Linked DNA regions of Homo sapiens: region 2 is linked to region 1. Evidence: promoter capture Hi-C in 16 types of primary human blood cells and fetal thymus (Javierre and others, 2016). All regions are on one chromosome and are shown on one strand. Each heading gives the region's core, a stretch centred on a gene start or on the middle of the fragment in contact. The rest is flanking DNA. Distances are from core to core; before and after follow the strand shown.

Evidence for each region. The method cuts DNA at HindIII sites, captures the fragments that hold promoters and counts their contacts. A CHiCAGO score of 5 or more calls a contact.
Region 2: a fragment that was not itself captured here is called in contact with the fragment with the promoter of COMMD8 in region 1 in 3 of 17 cell types (naive CD8 T cells, naive CD4 T cells and non-activated CD4 T cells); the score reaches 7.8 in naive CD8 T cells.

The regions. Positions count from the first base shown.
Region 1 is chr4:47,462,170-47,465,259 of GRCh38, reverse strand. It overlaps COMMD8 (COMM domain containing 8), which reads left to right and starts at 1,558. Exons shown (of 5, transcript NM_017845.5): 1 at 1,558-1,674. The coding sequence starts at 1,609. It overlaps LOC107986277 (a long non-coding RNA gene), which reads right to left and starts at 1,377. Exons shown (of 3, transcript XR_001741683.3): 1 at 1,309-1,377. RefSeq lists a silencer at 1,568-1,827. The HindIII fragment of the contact is 2,743 bases long and covers 1-1,934 here.
Region 2 is chr4:44,681,192-44,684,281 of GRCh38, reverse strand. It overlaps GUF1 (GTP binding elongation factor GUF1), which reads right to left. Exons shown (of 17, transcript NM_021927.3): 4 at 3,079-3,090; 5 at 1,871-1,948; 6 at 964-1,047. Among named protein-coding and RNA genes, the nearest start is that of GUF1, 4.3 kb to the right of the region's middle. The HindIII fragment of the contact is 1,070 bases long and covers 1,133-2,202 here.

The DNA.
Region 1 (3,090 bases), core at 309-2,808:
TTTTACCTTATTTAGTCATGTTACGTGGCCTTAGGTAAGCCATATCATTTCAGTTCCTCAGCAGGGGTAGTCAAGCATGCAAACTGAGATCACCGTTTCTGGCCTCAGACCAGTGATTTTGTAACTACTATCTATGTGACCTTACAAAATATATTACTTCAAGTTCATTTCCTCATCTGTAATACCCACTGTACAAGGCTGTAGCAGGAATTAGTAAGATAAAAATATATGAAGGGTTTGACATATAGTAGATGCTTGAAAGTACTTTTCTCCCAATTATTATAATACATAAAATTTAAGTTTTTTTCTCAAAATAGACCTTACCCATCATTAGATTTACAGAAAGACTCAGGTGAAGTAGTTTTCCAGACTTCTCATTTTAACTATTACTAGGGGAGCTCCTATTCACAAAGTATCTTAAGACAATTACATTTAAGATAGGGCAATGAGTGTTGTGCATCTATCTGCATTAAGAACTAGAAAGTGGTAAATAAGTGAGGGACAGCTAAAATATCATGAAAACTCACGGGAGAAAGAAATTGACTTCACCTTTTAGAGTTGAGGCACACAGAGAAAGGACGTAGGAGGTAAACCTAGAATGCTGCTAATGAGTAGTTTTTCTCTGCGTAGCCCATAGATTGAATACTTTCTCTTCTGCTTCACCATTTTGCACCACTTTTATTATTAAATTTATAAATTAGATTGTAATTCCTGTTTCTGGTCTACTAGTTATTATTATCCGCTTTTGCAGGACATGCTCATTTTACCACCACTGAATTCTTCAGCACCTGATTAAAGTAACAGCTGTAATAAGAAATAACAGAAAGGATATTTGGACTTTGAGCTTAGTCCAACATTAATAGCATGGCTCTTGAGTCTGATTGATTTTGTTTAACTTCAGACTGGGCCTCTTACTTAGGTCAGTGATTTTTAGCGTTGCCAGATAAAATACAGGACACCAGTTAAATTTGAATTTCAGATGGACAAATAATTTTCAGTATAAATATATCCCATACAATATTTAGGGGATACTTACAACAAAATATTATTGTTTATCTGAAATTTCACATTTAACTGGACGCTTGGTATTTTCATTTGCTAAATCTGACAACCTTAGTGACTTCTCTAATCATGTTTGCTTTCTGCAAATAGGGCTGAAAATAGTACCTTCTCCCTAGGATGATCTATATACAGAACGTTGCTCATGGCAAAACCTTAATTTACCTTGCAAATCAGGATACTTTAGTAGAGACTTCTGTTAAAACTCTGGGACAATGACCATGCCCAGGCACCCAAAAAGATGGTTACCTTTATTCGACGGTTTTCTAAAGAGCACAGAGAAAGTTCAATAGAACCCTAAACAAAGGTACAAACTGCGTTGAAAGATACGTAAATGTGCCTTTAATAGCACAAGGGTATCTTAGCCACATCACTGCAAACTGCAGTCTCCCTGGTTACGGGGAAAGCGGTAGTTCGGTCTCTGCGCAAGCGCACAGGGACTTCTTGGGTCCACGCCCCTCCCCGCCGGCGAGAGTCACGTGGGCGAGTCGTAGCTTTAGACAAGCGGCCAGCCTTGACACGTGACCCAAGCCCCAGCTTCGCGCAGGGATGGAGCCGGAAGAGGGGACGCCCTTGTGGCGGCTGCAGAAGCTGCCGGCCGAGCTGGGCCCGCAGGTGAGGGCGGGTACCGGGGGAAGCGGCGCGGGGCCTGGGATTCGCGACAGCCCGGCGTGCGGATCAGGCCGGGTGCGACCCGGACGCCTTCGCAAGCTCCCTAGGGAAGGGAGGAGGAAGGGGCGTGATTTCGGGTGGTTGGTCCCCGCCTTCCCTGGGGAGCCTAGGAGGACAGCTTGGGGCGCCACCCCCAGCCTAGAGGTGCAGCTCCAGGGGCTTTGCGCGCAGAAGCGCCCACACCAGACTGGGCTTTGAAAGCTTAAGTCGGTGTTTGCTGCCTCTTAGTATACGTTTTCTTAATTCATTCAACACATAACCTCCCAAAGGCTCCCTACCTACCGGACAGCAGGTACAGAGCTAGGTGCTGGAATACAATGTGACAAAGACCGAAGCGGACCCTGCCTCCCCCCTTGAGGGTGGTTGGTAGGAAGAGAAATAACTGGGCGAGTTACTTTAGTTAGGATCGTCCCAAGAGGTGATGTACCCATTGACTTCCAGTCTGTAAAAGAACCTGGCTTGTAAGAATCTGGAAAAAGCAACCACATTCATTTGTTCAGCCAGTTTTTCATTGAAGTCTACCATAGATTGAGCGCCCCGATGGGATGAGGTAAATGGTGAGTGAGACACAGCCTGTGCCCTGGTGGAGCATCTTTTTTATAAGTCTCAATTTTGGCTTCCTGTTTCCTCTATTCCATTTATACTGGAGAAAGTGTGGAGGAGACAGAAAGGAATGAACTTACCTCCTGCCAGGGTCAAGAAAAAAAAACACCTAATTCTTTTCTTTGTTTTTGCAAGTGAGGAACCTGAAATGTCAGCAGAAATTTTGGCTAACTTGCCCAGGATTGCCCATCCAGTTAGTGGCAGAGCTGGAACTTATGCTCAGATCTGTTGATTCTGAGTGTTTTATTGGCTTTTGGCTCTCCTTGTCTTCACTCTACCCATTTAGATAAGGCCCATAACCTTTATTACCATATATGTCGATGACTTCTAAATCTTTAGGTCCAGCCAAAAATTTCTTCCTCTATGGTTCAAGAATGCCAGGTAAAAAACAAAACAAAACCCCAAAAACCCCAAACCAAAATCTCTTCCCTGAGTGTCAGGCTTCTGCCACAGGTACCTCAAATTCAGTATGCCCTTGCCTCAGCTCTTCTTTCCCCCTGGACCTACTCCTCCCGTAGCCTCATTTTCGGTTTGTGGCACCACCACTTTCACCCAGCCCCTCTCAACCTGACGTTCTAGGTTTCATCCATGGCCCCCCCTTTTCACATCTCTTCTACCTCTTTACTGCCTCCATTTTGAGTGTCCTCAACAATTTAAGCCCCTTAATCTTTAACTCCTTAACTGAAAATTGAGGCATCTGGGCTCACCCTCTCTCTTACATCTTCCAACCTGTTAGCAAATATATGGAAAAATAAT
Region 2 (3,090 bases), core at 418-2,917, 2.8 Mb after region 1:
GCTTTTGCTAAGTTATTCCATGTCATAACGTCTCTCTAAGAAAAAAGACTTTTCACTGTTAATGATGGTATTTCACCTAGAATAATAACAATTTGTCGAATGAATTTCCTTGACAATCTCTATCCTAGTCAATAATTCCTATGCTTACTTCTTTGTTTACTTATTTATTGACTGTCTGCAGAAAGGAAGGGGTCTTGTCTGTCTTATTCACTGCCATACTCTTAGCTGGCATATACCAAATAAGAATCTGAATGAATTTTATTAAGATTAAAATCAGAATAGTTAATTGTATTTTAATATAACATAATCCAAAATATAAAACCATATATAACTTGCTCTTTTGAAAATTAAATTAGCTTGAAAGAAAAACATTACATTGCTGTGCTGACATACTTTACACTACCATGTAGTATAGCAGTTTGGCTGTGGCTGTTTAACAAGCAGATCATCATTTCAAAGGTAAATAAAAATTCAAATTTAAAATGGTAGCAACTTTGGTATAAATAAAATCTATTGTTTCCTAGCACTACAACTAGCTTTTTATAAAATAGGTTTTTGTCAGTTCCAAGAATGATACATACAAAAGCCCTGAAATTAGTTTGAACCTGCTCTTCAAAGACAGTATTTCCACTGGGCAAACTGACACACAAGAAATACTGCAGGGAGTTTCAGAAGGCCTGTGTTTTAGTCCTGGCACATTGGCTAACTAAACCTGTGATCTTAGGAAAGTGATAAAACCTTTGAGCCTCAGTTCCTTTAACTACAGCATCGCAATAATTTCTGTATGTCCTAACAATATAAAAAGGGCTTTTGATAAGGATCAAAGGAAATAATAGTAAAAGAAGTTTGTAAAACTATAAAAAACAGCATATAATGCCAGGTTATCAAATACCATGAAATTTCACTTAGCCCAATTACTTGAGACTTTTTTCAAAGTATAATCTTTTTAGGAACGTATTTTACCTTAATACATTCATCACTTGGAATATCAAACACTTTCTCAATTTGGTTTTCAACCCTTTCAGGATCAGCATTCTTCAGATCTATCTTTAAAAAAAAAAATCCATTATGTGAAGTATAATAAAGATAAGATGTATTATGTATTAACAGTATTCGGAGGTAATTAAAAGCTTACCCACTTTAACCTAACTGACCCCTCTACAATATTTTTTCAAAAGCAGTAAAATAATCTATATATTAGCAGTATAATTTAATAACCATGATTGAAAAAGAGAAGTTAAGTAGCAGAGCTTGCAAAAAAAACTTAAGCAGTTAGCTACCCAGGGCAGCAGAAGAGATCAGTAGTAATTTATCAATTAAGCAGCATGTGAACTGATTTTAAAGGTTAAGTTAAATACAACATTAAGTCTGACAACAAGCTGTCTTACCTATGGCCTTCTTTTAAACTTAACTCCATTATCAAGAAATATAATTAAAGCAATGCAGATTTTAAAATTAAGATTCTAAATTAATTTTAAAATATGAAATGGAAGTTTATAGACAGAGCTCAGTTTAGCACTAAATTGTCATGCTTCATGTGTTGTATTGTTTCTTCCTAGATTATAAACTTCTCTTCTTTTCCTATGTATGGTTTAATCTGACAAACATGTTTCATCTGCCCTGCTTCCCTTCCCTACAGAAATGGCCCTCAGCTACCACAAGTTAATTCAGGAGAACTACCTTCTCAATTCTGTGCAAGGGTGAGTTTCAGTTGCACTTCTGTTATATACAATTCAAAGAGATAAATCCCACCAATATATTTAATAAATAGCTGGTGATCCCTCATATAATGAATAGTACAACTGACATTTAAACATTAATTGTACTTTTAGAAAGTGAAATAGCAACACTGTTGTCTCATTGTAATTACCTTATTTATAACTGGAATTACCGATAGCTGTGCTTCGAAGGCAAGAAAGAAGTTTGCTACAGTTTGGGCTTGAATTCCCTGAAAATATCAAGATACAAGATACTGAGATGACCATTCTATTATATATCACAAAACTTGTAATTTAAGACCATTCTATACATCTTCATCAAGAGATTTTGCGTTATGCTAATAATAAAATTAAACAAAATGCCATGTAGCTACCCTTCATGCTTTTCTCTCCAACTTATGTCTTTGGGGTCAATATGAAAATCGCTGATGGTAAAGCAATAATCACATCAAGTAGAGTGAGCCAACAGACAGTCTACTAAGCTTGAGATAGGAAGCCTTTAAGGAAAGGTACACGGCAGCTCAACTATGATACCTATTTTTCCATGCATCTGAATCATCCTCTGTAATAATTCCTTTCAGTTCAGAAAGCATTTATTGGAGGGCCTTTTCTGTGCCAGAAACTACATCAGGCATTGGAGAAACAAAAGATGTAACATGGACTCTCAAGGACCTCAAAGCTTATTAGAGAACACAGTCATCAAGGTAGTTTATAAAGGCCAGTACTGCCTACATAAGGTAGAGATTGACTTTCCTTGATGGGATCAGGAAAGGCTTAACGGCTTAACACAACACGGTCACCACCACCACTAAAAAAAAGTTGGGTTTTGAATGAAGAGTTTGTGAGAAACATGTAACAAAAGTTTATATTCACAGCTCTTACATGGTCATCTGCTGAGTGTCTTTACGGCTTACACAACAAAAGAGCTTAGTAATGTTACTGATTTTTTAAAAACCTAATACTTCCAAATTATTGCCTTAAAATCACCTAAAATGATCTGAAAACTAATGATTTATTCTTAAGATCTGCTAAAAATGGATATAGAAACCTCAGATTAAGAACTGCTAAAGTTGGTGGGGTTTTTTTGGTAAGATGCATTGACAATATGATGTCACACTTCAAAAAAATACAACAATCTTTTGAACAATTCCAATTTAAAAACTAGTCAATTCCAGAGAATGCTTTATTGTAATAATATTTCAGATTAACAGGATGAAACCATATGATTTTCAGTAAGTAACAGATTAAATCTATTTTTCAAACACAAAAATTCTATTTCCAAAACACATTTTAAAGAAAAACTCTTGAAACAACCAAATAGTCATGTCATATCACATCATACAAAATGAAAAATACCTACCTCATTTGCATC